Regions from separate parts of the Homo sapiens genome. Here region 1 is linked to region 2. The links are contacts of gene promoters, found by promoter capture Hi-C in blood cells and fetal thymus (Javierre and others, 2016). All regions are on one chromosome and are shown on one strand. Each heading gives the region's core, a stretch centred on a gene start or on the middle of the fragment in contact. The rest is flanking DNA. Distances are from core to core; before and after follow the strand shown.

The links. Contacts are between HindIII fragments. The CHiCAGO score rates a contact against its expected background, and 5 or more counts as called.
Region 1: a fragment that was not itself captured here is called in contact with the fragment with the promoter of SHFL in region 2 in 1 of 17 cell types (neutrophils); the score reaches 6.0 in neutrophils.

What each region holds. Positions count from the first base shown.
Region 1 is chr19:10,961,368-10,967,255 of GRCh38, reverse strand. The region is part of intron 1 of SMARCA4 (SWI/SNF related BAF chromatin remodeling complex subunit ATPase 4); the gene reads right to left. Among named protein-coding and RNA genes, the nearest start is that of SMARCA4, 3.3 kb to the right of the region's middle. RefSeq lists an enhancer at 3,212-3,341 and a silencer at 5,859-5,888. The HindIII fragment of the contact is 1,307 bases long and covers 3,856-5,162 here.
Region 2 is chr19:10,084,782-10,091,067 of GRCh38, reverse strand. SHFL (shiftless antiviral inhibitor of ribosomal frameshifting) reads right to left here and starts at 4,751. Exons shown (of 8, transcript NM_018381.4): 1 at 4,620-4,751; 2 at 4,016-4,139; 3 at 3,768-3,817; 4 at 1,373-1,411; 5 at 1,021-1,170. The coding sequence starts at 4,640. RefSeq lists silencers at 4,483-4,762, 4,833-5,052. The HindIII fragment of the contact is 8,670 bases long and covers 1-6,286 here.

The DNA.
Region 1 (5,888 bases), core at 3,260-5,759, 880 kb before region 2:
AATCAATGTGTCCCTTCTCTCTGCCCTGTAACAACAAACCCAGCTACACCTGGCACTTCCATCCAGGCCCTTTCCCATATATGAAGAAGAGTTGAGGCCACAAATCACATGCCCATCAATCCCACACCCTGAAAAATTAATGATTAATGTCCTTAGGATGCAGTTAACAGAAAACTTCAATCAAGAAATCACTGGGCATACTAATGAGTCCGCTATGTCTCCTTAGGGTTGACACCTATGAGGGTGGCAGCACCTGAAGCTCCATTCAGCCTCAGGCTTCATTCTGACCTGTTCCCTCTCATACCTTCCCCCAGTATTCCAGCAGCTGTTATCCTTCCCAACCCCCGGCTTTTTTTTTTTCTTTTGTAGAGACGTAGTCTTGCTCTGTCGCCCAGGCTGGAGTGCAGCGGCACGATCTCGGCTCCCTGCAACCTTGGCCTCCCGGGTTCAAGCAATTCTCCTGCCTCAGTCTCACAAGTAGCTAGGACTACAGGCGCACACCACCATGCCCAGCTAATTTCTTTTGTATTTTCGTAGAGACGGGGTTTCACAATGTTGCCCAGGCTGGTCTTGAACTCCTGAGCTCAGGCGATCCGCCCGCCTCGGCTCCCAAAGTGCTAGGAATACAGGCATGAGCCACCGCGCCCAGCCCAACCCCCGGCTTTTTTAAGATAGGGTCTTGTTGTGTCACCCAGGTTGGAGTGCAGTGGTGCGATCACAGCTTACTGCAGCCTCCACCTCCTCGGCTTGATCCTCCCACGTCAACCTCCCAAGTAGCTGGGACTACAGGTGTGCAACACCATGCTTGGCTAATTTTTTAACTTTTCTGTAGAGACGGGGTTTCGCCATGCTGCCCAGGCTGGTCTTGGATTCCTGGGATCAAGTGATTTGCCCTGCTGGGCCTCCCAAAGTGTGGGAATTACAGGCATGAGCCACCACACTCGGCTGAACATTTGATATTTTTAAAAACCTGGCCGGGCGCGGTAGCTCACGTCTGTAATCCCAGCACTTTGGGAGGCTGAGGCAGGTGGGTCACCTGAGGTCAGAAGTTCAAGACCAGCCTGGTCAACATGGTGAAACCCCGTTTCTACTAAATATACAAAAAATTAGCCAGGCATGGTGGCGGGCACCTGTAATCCCAGCTACTCGGGAGGCTGAGGCAGGAGAATTGCTTGAACTCTGCAGTCGGATGTTGCAGTGAGCCAGGACCGCATCATTGTGCTCCAGCCTGGGCAACAAGAGCGAAACTTCACCTCAAAAAAAAAAAAAAAAAAAAAAAAAAAAACCATGCCACTAAACACACTCTCCCTTTTCCAATGCCTTATGGTGAAATTTCAAAGCATGGTTTTCTTCACCACATAACATTTTGGTCAATGATGGACCAAATATACAATAGTCCCATAAGATTATACCTTCCTCCTTGAATTGTCTAATTAGAAAAATTTTTTAAAGATCATAATACTGTATTTTTCCCATACGTTTTCTGTTTAGATATATTTAGATACACAAATACTATCGGGTCACAACTGCCTACAATAATCGGTACAGTGACATGCTGTACAGGTGTATAGCCTGGGAACAATAGGCTATACCACAGAGCCTACATGTGGACTAGGCTCCACCATCTAGACGTGTGTAAGCACACTCTATCATCTTCACGCAACCACAAAATCATCTCACAACGCATTCCTCAGAATGCATCCCTGCTGTTAAACAATGTGCAGCCATTAAGGACAAAATGGAGGAGCTGACTCCTTTGCTACCACTTTGAAACATACAGAACTTATGACTAGAGGAAAAAGTATATTATCTGTGTCATCCCACCAGGCTGTTGCAGGAATCCTAATAAATGATGAGCACTAACAACTGTTTAGCACTATGTGCCAGGCACCATTCTAAGCACTTCGCATTTGTCACTGGTTGTTCAGCTCTTGCAGCAATCCTACAAGCTGGGTACTAGTACTGTCCCCCTTTGCAAGTCAAGAGTGGGGTGTGAGCTACTAAGAACAGGACCCTTGTCTGCCTGTTCCCCATGGAATCCCCAGCTCCCCAGCAGTGCCTGGCACATGGCAGGCGCTCAATGCATGCTTGTTCGCCACATAAATGGGGAAGAGTGGCTGGGTCATTTCTTGCACAACTCCAGGGGGCACTATTCACATTGTGTTCTGTCTACAGGCACCATGAATGGGTCCTTCTGTGCCATGGCAGCCTTGATGACCGAGGGATGGAAAGACAAAACCAGGAGTCAAACCCAGGTGGTTGACTTGACAACCCTTGTGGAAAGAAAATAACCCTAGGCCTCAGTTTCCTTACTGATAGAAAGTTCCACCAGACTGGCTGGGCACGGTGGCTCACGCCTATAATCCCAACACTTTGGGAGGCCGAGGTGGGCAGATTACAGGAGGCCAGGAGTTCGAGACCAGGAGTTCTGGCCAACATGGTGAAACCCGGTCTCTACTAAAATACAAAAATTAGCTGGGCATGGTGGTGCACGTCCTTAGTCCCATCCACTCCAGAGGCTGAGGCATGAGAATCGCTTGAGACCAGGAGGCGGAGGTTGCAGTGAGTCAAGATCGCACCACTGCACTCCAGCCTGGGCGACAGAATGACTCTGTCTCATAAGAAAAAAAAAAAAAGAGGCCGGGCGCGGTGGCTCATACTTGTAATCCCAGTACTTTGGGAGGCCAAGGGCCAAGGTGGGTGGATCAGTTGAGGTCAGGAGTTCAAGACCAGCTTGGCCAACATGATGAAATCCCATCTCTACTAAAAATACAAAACTTAGCCAGGTGTGGTGGTGCACACCTGTGATCCCAGCTACTCAGGAGGCTGAGTCAGAAGAATCGCTTGAACCCGGGAGGCAGAGGTTGCAGTGAGACGAGATCGTGCCATTGCACTCCAGCCTGGGCAACAAGAGTAAGATTCCGTCTCAAAAAAAAAAGAAAGAAAGAAAGAAAGTTCCACCAGACATCTGCCCAAAACCCTAGTCCCTCCCATGCTCCCACCTCCCACAAACAGCCAAAACATGGAATGGTCTAAGGTTATCTCCTGGTGTTTTGAGGGTTCCCAAGGAGAAGCAAAGGTACACAAATAAATTGTAAATAAATACACATATGTTGGAATGCTCCTCACTGACAAGAAGTTTAGAGACCACTGCACTGCCCTATATCACAATTCTGATGACATCACCTCCCCTGCTCAAAAGCCTGCACGATCAACATTTACGTCTCCTAAAGGGCTGGACACAAAATGATTTTAGGTGGCCCATGCAAAACCATTTATTACTTTCCTAACTATGCATGAATTAATTTTTATTCCTTTTTTTAGACAGGGTCTCGCTTCGTCACCCAGGCTGGAGTGCAGTGGCTCAATCATGGTCCACTGCAGCCTGTACCTCCTGCCCCAGCCTCTCAAGGAGCTTGGGACTACAGGGGCATTGCACTCCAGCCCGGATGACAGAGCGAGACTCCGTCTCAAAAAAAAAAAAAAAATCAAGTGTTCACTACGCATCAGGTGCAGCAGTGTGTTAGCGGCTTCCCATGTGACCTCATTCAACCCTCACAAGAAGCCTGTGAAGTTTCGGGCATCCTCGTCCTACCTGTTTCACAAGTGGGGGGCCCTACTGCTAAGCGCCTCGCTTGAGGTTAAGCTACGATTTAGAGAGCTGGGTGTGAATTCAGGAGGTCTGATTCCAGAATGAGTACTCCTTACCACCACCCCACGCTAACCACCACCCCACACTTTGTAGGGGAGATGAGGACAACTGAGGTTCAGGAAACAATGGCTTGGAAAGTGCAAAAACTGTTCAAACAACTAACCTGTATCCCTTACAATCCACCCCCAGTCCTGCACCAAGCTTTCTTTTTCTTTTTTTTTTTTTTTTTTTTTGAGACAGTCTTACTCTGGTGCACAGGCTGGAATGCAGGGGCACAAGAATGGCTCACTGCAGCCTCCACCTCTCTGGCTCAAGCAGTCCTCCTACCTCAGCCTCCTGAGTAGTTGGGACCACCGGTGCATGCCACCACACTCGGCTAATTTTTGTATTTTTTGTAGAGATGAGGTCTCACTATGTTGCCCAGGTTAGTCTCAAACTCCCGGGTTCAAGCAATTTTCCCGCCTCAGCCTCCCCAAGTGCTGGGATTTCAGGTATGAGCCACTGCACCTGGCCCTGCACCAAGCCTTTTACACAGATGGTCACGCGATCTTCCACAGGACCCCCTCATTCAATCCACATAAGTTCGCTAAAGACCTACTATGTGTCAGGCCCAGGGTACTGTGGGGCCAGCCAGGCAGACACAACCCCAGCTCTCACGGTGCTGGGGGTGACAGCTACACCGGAAAGGACCAAGTTGATGTATGAATGTAGCTGAGGGGAACAATGGCTAGTCCGAGGTGGCCAGGGAAAGTCAAAATACAATCCTGGCGCAGTGGCTCACACATGTAGTCCTAGCACTTTGGGAGGCCGAGGTGGGTGGATCACCTTAAGTCAGGAGTTTGAGACCAGCCTGGCCAACATGGTAAAACCCCATATCTACTAAAAATACAAAAATTAGCCAGGCGTGGTGGCGGGCGCCTGTAGTCCCAGCTACTCAGGAGGCTGAGGCAGGAGAATCGCTTGAACCCAGGAGGCGGAGGTTACAGTGAGCGGAGATTGGGACTCTGAACTCCAGCCTGGGCGACAGGCAAGACTCTGCCTCAAAAACAAAATACAATCCTACACACCCTCCCTGATTTTGAGGCCCCCTCTTCCAAGCAGCCCCCGTGATCTCTGGCTACCACCGATCCCCTGCCTGTCCGCTGTGTCCCTCTCACAGTGCAGGTTCAGAGCAATAAACGATAGGCCAAGAGAGTTTGTTCCCACATTTACCACCCGCTCCCCTCCAAGACTGCAGAGGCTCCAGGATCCAACCCCCGACCATCCAACACTTAGTAGGGCCTCAAGAAGTTATCTGCTGAACAATGAGGGAGATTGGACCAGACAATTACAATAGTGCTTCCCGCTTGCGAGGAACCATTTTACAGGCTTTCACCAATTCCATTTGGGAGATTACCCCCTTTCACAAAGGAGCTTTCACAAAGGAGGAAAACTAAGAGGTTCAGAGAGGTTAAGCCACTTCCCTAAAGTGACAGTGTGCTAAGTGACTGACAGCACCAGGAATCAAGCTTGAATGCAGCCTATCAATCCAAACTGAAAACTTGCTTCAAATTCCTGCGAAGCGGCTTTTCCGCTTATTCCCTTGCTACTTTCCCCAAGGAGTCACTGACCAAAAAAAAAAAAAAAAAAAATCAAGACTGGTATCTTCAAGATCGGGACAAAACACTCGCCCAAAAGGTCCACGTTGAAAATAAAAGCCTTAATCTGAAAAACCAATTGGGAAGGAGAAAAAAGGATGCAAAAGAAAAGCAATGCTTTTACACAGCAAAGGATTTCCTCCGTGCTCCCCTACTTGCCGCCGACCCCATCCCCAACCCCAATTCGGGCAAACATTTTGAAGTCACTAACTGCAAGGCATCGGGGGAGTCCTTTACCTTTCCTTGAAAATCTGGAATGACACGTTTTTAAGACAATTTGAGGTCGGCTAGCCCAAGGGGACCGCTAATGCCCGTGTCCGGCCGACGCCGGACATATCTGGAGGTTTGGCTGAGCCCCGATCGCAGCTTCGCCAAAAACGCAACATTCGGGTCGGACCCGTTACCACGCAGCCAGAAAAGCCCCAACGCCTGCCTATTGTTGCAGCCGCTGTAATTGGGAGGGCGACTGTAGGGGTGCCGGGCGAGGGGGGCGAGCTTTGTCCGGCGACCCCGGCGAGAGCGCGCGCGGAGAGGATCGCGCGGCCTCCACGCGGCCCGGGCCCCCCACCCACCCCGCCGCTCCGCGGGGGCCGCCGCTG
Region 2 (6,286 bases), core at 3,502-6,001:
ATTGGCAAACACTACACATCTTGGCTTCCTGCCTCTTTTGCAAGAACTAGTTAAGCATTGACCAGAAGTGAACTACTAGTCAGGAGGTTCAGAAGCCAGATTTGGGGCTGTGTTTTTGAGGTCAGATTTGGTTTCTTTTCTTTCTTTCTTTTTTTTTTTAGAGACAGAGTCTTGCTCTGTCACCCAGGCTGGAATGCAGTGTTGTGATCATGGCTTACTGCAGCCTCGACCTCCCAGGCTCAAACGATCCTCCCACCTCAGCCTCCTGAGTAGTTGGGACCACAGGCACACACCACCACTCCCAGCTAATTAAAAAAATTTTTTTTTGCCAGGCACAGTGGCTCATGCCTGTAATCCCAGCACTTTGGGAGGCTGAGGTGGTAGATTGCTTGAGCCCAGGAGTTTGAGACCAGCTTGGGCAACATGGCAAAACCCCATCTCCACACACACACACAAAATACAAAAATTAGCCAAGTGTGGTGGCGCAGGCCTGTAGTCCCAGCTGCTTGGGAGGTTGAGGTGGGAGGATCACCTGAGGCCAGGAGGTGGAGGCTGCAGTGAGCTATGATCCCGCCACTGCACTCCAGCCTGGGTGACAGGGCGAGACCCCCTGTCTTCAAAACACATTTTTTTTTGGAGACAGGGTCTCACCCTGTCACCCAGGCTGGTCTCAAACTCCTAAATTCAAGCGATCCTCCCTACTTAGCCTCCCAAAACACTGAGATTGCAGCCATGAGCCACTGCGCCTGGCCAGGTTTGATTTCTGTAGTAGCTGTTCAATTGTGGGTCAAGGGTCAGGTTCTGGGGTAAGGAGGTATTGGGCTTCTCACATTTAAGGTCAGAAGTCCAGTCCTGGGTCAGGGGTTGGGATCAGAGATCAAGGCTGAGCTCTGAGTTTGGAGGTCAGGGATTGGACTCTCAGTGATTGAAATCCTTAGGTCAGAGGTACAGTCACTGAGGATAGGAGTCAGGAGTGGAGTTCGGGACAGTCAAAGTCGAGGTTAAGTTTTAGGTCATCACCTCCTTCCGCTGGGGCACGCGGCGCCACCAGACGTGGTCGCAGGAGGAGCAGGCAAACTGCCGGTCCACAGCAGGGATAAGGTCGTCCTGGGCACGTTGAAACATGCGTAGGTTGGCTTCTGTCAGTGGCAGGAGGGAGGTCGCCACTGCCTGTGGAATGGGGCAGGTGGGGATGAGGTGGGGGGGTGTCACCCCTTCTGCACCAACATAAGCATCAGCCCTCCTCTCCCTACAGACGAGTCCTCTTCCTGCCCCAGTGAATATCTCCCCTCCTGCCCTAATGGACATCCTTCTGTGCCTGCAGATGTCCCCCTCCCAACTCCCCCATCCCAAGCCCTAGCCACCAACTCACCTGAATGTCCCGGTCCTGCTTCATATCTTCTGGTGGATCCTGGGTGGAGATAGCAGGGGCAGAAACTGGGGATGGGGCTCAGGCCTCTTTCCACCCGTTTGCTGGGGGAGGCCCCCGGCCGCAATGAGTAGGGTGCCCCTAACTCGCCAGAAGCTCACAGAGCACCACTCACTTATTGAGAGCCAGGTGTGTGGCCTCAGTTGTCCTCATAGCAGCCCTGAGAGGTGGGCACACCTGTTACCTTATTGCTCAGATGGGGAAACTGAGGCTTAGGGGAGGGCTTGCCTGAGTGAGGCTAGCCTGACCCCCATACTCACTTCCTGCCTGCAAATGCCACATGCTTGTTGATGTTGTGACATATCGCCCCTTTGAGGCCACGTTGTGCTCGGCTAAGTGGGAGAGAGATGTGGGTTCAAATCCCAGCTGTATCACTTCCAGCTGTGGGGACTTGGGCAAGCCACTCCCTGCCCCCTGGGTTCCCACTGACAGGCATGTTAGAGCCCAGGCTCTGACTCCAGGTGGCCAGGGTTCAAATCGCAGCTGCCCCTGCTTGCTGGCAAGTGACTTCGGCCTCAGTTTCTTTGTCTGTGAAATGGGGATAAATAATAGGACCTGTCTCCTGGGGTCACTGCAGTGATGAAATAAATAAATTCCTGGAATCTTGCCATGTGGGAAGTACTCAATGAATGCTACTCTCTGCTAATATTATTATTATTATTATTATTATTATTATTATTATTATATTTTTGAGACGGAGTTTCGCTCTTGTCTCCCAGGCTAGAGTGCAATGGCACAATCTTGGCTGACTGCAACCTCTGCCTCCCAGGTTCAAGTGATTCTTCTGCCTTAGCCTGCCAAGTAGCTGGGATTACAAGCATGCACTGCCACGCCCAGCTAATTTTTTGTATTTTTAATAGAGAAGGGGTTTCACCGTGTTGGCCAGGCTAATCTCGAACTCCTGACCTCAAGTGATCTGCCCGCCTCAACCTCCCAAAGTGCTGGAATTACAGGCGTGAGCCACCACACCTGGCCCCTCTGCTATCATTTTTATCATACTTTTATATGTATAAATGTAGACTATGATACATGTTTTGTTATACTCTGGTTTTGTTTGTTTTTGTTTGTTTGAGACGGAGAATCGCTCTGTTGCCCAGGCTGGAGTGCAGTGGTGCGATCTCGGCTCACTGCAAGCTCCGCCTCCCGGGTTCACGCCATTCTCCTGCCTCAGCCTCCTGAGTAGCTGGGACTACAGGGGCCTGCCAGCACAACTGGCTAATTTTTTTTTTCGTATTTTTAGTATAGATGGGGTTTCACCATGTTAGCCAGGATGGTCTCGATCTCCTGACCTCATGATCCGCCCGCCTTGGCCTCCCAAAGTGCTGGGATTACAGGCGTGAGCCACCGCGCCCGGCATTTTTTTTTTTTTTTTTTTTTTGAGACAGAGTTTCGCTCTTGTTGCCCAGGCTGGAGTGCAATGGTGTGATCTCAGCTCACTGCAACCTCCGCCTCCTGGGTTCAAGTGATTCTCCTGCCTCAGCCTCCCGAGTAGCTGGGATTACAGGCATGCGCCACCATGCCCAGCTAATTTTGTATTTTTTAGTAGAGACGGGTTTCTCCATGTTGGTCAGGCTGGTCTCAAACTCCCGACCTCAGGTGATCCGCCCGCCTCGGCCTCCCAAAATGTTGGGATTGCAGGCGTGAGCCACCGCGCCTGGCCTATTATACTCTTTAACAGCCCTACACTAAGCCTTTCAGGCAGGCTAAATCCACAGCGTTCCCATCACCAAAGCTGTCAAAGAAGCAAAGTAGCCATGATGCACCTGTGCTTCAAAGCCATTCATTCATTCATTCATTCATTCATTCATTCATTCATTCAACACAAGGGTTCCATTCCCCTGCCTCTCTCTCCTCCCCAATCCTCTGCTCATCCTAGCCTTTCTAGAGACTGCCACTAACAACCCTTCCCCACCTCCCAGCCTTTGCTTATGCCATTCCCTCCCCCACCCCAAGACCCCTGCCTTTCTTTCCCTTTCCCCTCCCAGGGCTCACTCCTCCCCATCCTTTAAGACTTGGTACCTCCTCCTCCAGTAAGCCTTCTCTGACCTCTGCGCCCCCGCTATGATGGCAATAATCCTGGCTCCTTTCATTGCTTAGTTTCATGGCTCTCTCCCCCATTGAATACAATCAGCACATAATGAGCGCCTACTGTTTGCAGGCTCCCTGGCCGGACAAATGATGGAGAGGTGAAAAAGTGAGATTGGGTGATGAGTTATGGACCGACAATGCCTGGTCCCTCCTGTTTCAGAGGGGGGTCAGTCACCATGAACGGGTCGGGTCCCCCCTCTTGCTCTCCCTCCCGTGACCCGGTCCTTTGCGAGGGGAGGGGATAGGTTACCTGGGCATCCAGATCGTTACTTAGTTCTTGGCCATCTTTTTGCTTTACCCCTGCGGGGGAGAGTGCATATAAGGGAAGGGCCCTTGAAGGGTCTGTGGGAGTTCCAGGCCACCCAGAGCCGCGACGCAGAGCCTCCCCAAGGCTGGGACCTCCGGGGGAGGTGATCTCAACGCCTCTCCCTAGACCACGCCCCCTCGGCGCTCCCACGCGCGGTCCCCGCACCAGGCCCGGGACCCCTGCAGCCTCACCGTACACGATGGAGCGCCCCACTCCCGTGTGGTCGCTGCCGAATTTCCTCATCAGAGCCCCCGCCTTCTTGGAGGATACCTTCCCATGAAACTTCTCCCGGAGGCGCCGGACGCTCTTCTCCAGCTGGGATGGAGACAGGGGGGTTCCGGTGGGGGAAGGGGAAACGGGATCATCCCTCCCCCATCTCTAGGCACCGTTCTCCCGGCCCGAACTTGACCCTTGGTTTTGGCCTCCGCCGCCCCCCCCCCGCCTTTCATCCCTTTACGGCATTTCCTGGAAAAAGCCAAAGTCCCCACAGGGCGTTGGGGGAAGGCGCGGACTGGGGCGAGCGTCCCAGCCTAAGGTGTGGGGGGGCGGCCAGGTTATCTCTGGCCTCTGACCTTTGACCCTGCAGCCCCCGCTTTTCCTCGGGGAGGCCTCATTTCGCTCTGGGGAAACGTGGGAGTCACTTTCCTTTTCAAGGGGGGCGAGCGCCAGGCAGGGGTAAGGATCTGGGGTTCTAGGATGGGGGTCCCCAGGAACTGCGAAGCCCCCTCCGCGCCTCCCGGCCGCTCCTCGGGGTCTGTCGCGGCTGACCCCGGCCCAGCCGTAGCCATCGCTTACCTCCACACCTTCCTGAGACATGGTGGCGGCGGCGCAGTTCCCCGCGAGGGTCCGCACTGCGCGGCTCAGCCGCCCCCCTACCTGGGTGCGCCCGTCGGTCCAGCAGCCGCGCAGGGCAGGGGGCGGTGCCTCGGGGCCGGCTCCGCCCTTCCTCCCCGGCCCCTGTTTCGCTTTCGATTCAGGGGGGACCCGGCGCGCTGGCTCCGCCCTGGCTCCGCCTCTGCTCTTGCGCCCCAAACCCAGGCGGGCGCCCCGGGTCTGCACCCTGCGGCGGAGCGCGCAGACCTCGGACGGGGGAGGCGGCGCGGCCTCTGCAGTCGGTCACATGTCCCCACGCTGCGCGGGGTCCGCGTCTTCACGTCCCTCGTGGGGGCGGGGCCGCATCAGAAGGCCGCGGCGAGGCCCCGCGCCCCCCCACCCAGCGCGCGCTCCCCCAGTTCATCACCCTCCTCTCTGTTCTCCCTCCTTCCCCGGGAATCTGGCGCTCATGAGGACCTGGGCCCTTTTCCTGCCCTGAGTCTCTGTCCTAGCTACGGTCACCTCTCTCAACCTCAGTTTACCCCTCTGTGAAATGGGGAGAATCCTGGTGTCTACACCATGGAGTGGAGTATGTGCCAAGATTCCCGAGTGGATCGCGTAATAGCGCCTGGCTTGCAGTAGGCGTTCAACTAGTCACTGGGCCACCTGCTGTGTGCCCTTGATAGGGGCAGGCAGTGTGTGTGTGGTTGGGGGGAGCGGTGCTTGAGAAAAATACAGATTCTTGGTCTCTAGTAGCCCGGTAGAATCCGGCTGTCTCAGGGATCCAGGGAATCTGCAATGGTTAAGAACCCCGTGGGACGGACAATTCTAACCCAGTACAGGGCACATCAGGGAGCCCTTAGGTGGTGGGGCTCTGGCCCAGCCTGGGGACACAGAGATGGCAACTTCATTGGAGGAGGGGATGCTTTGTAGAGTCACTGAAATTGGAGGTCTTAGCTAGGGGAGGAATAGAGTGGGGAGATGAGGCAGCCGTGCAGAGCCCCCAAAGCAAGACTAAGTCTGGGGTTTTTGGGCAATGGCTTCTCAAGCCCAGCACTCTTGACACTTTGGGCGGCCTAGTTCTTTGTGTGGGGGACTGTCCTGTGTATTGGGGGACATTTAACACCATCCCTGGCCTCCACCCACTAGATGCCAGTGGTTCCCTACTCTCCCTGTTGTGACTACCAAAAACGTCTCCAGAGACTGCCGGATACTCTCTGAGGAGCAAAATAGCATTGTGTTCAACGACTCCAAATTTTTTTCTCCATTGCACACCCCTATAGGTAAAAGTGTTAAAGTTACACCCCCAGATGGATATTTATTCATTTATTTATTTTTTGAGACAAGATCTTGCTCTGTTGCCCAGGCTGGAGTGCAGTGGTTTGATGGTGGCTCACTGCAGCCTCTAACTCCTGGGCTCAAACGATCCTCCTGCCTCAGCCTGCTAAGTAGCTGGGACTACTGGCATATGCCACTATGCCTGGTTAATTTTCTATTTTTTTTGTAGAGACGGGGTCTCACTATGTTGCCCAGGCTGGTCTCAAACTCCTGGCCTCAAAGATGGATATTATTTATAAATTATATACAAATACAATTATATCAATATATTCTGTTAACTGTTATATAAAATATTGATAGATAAATGGAGC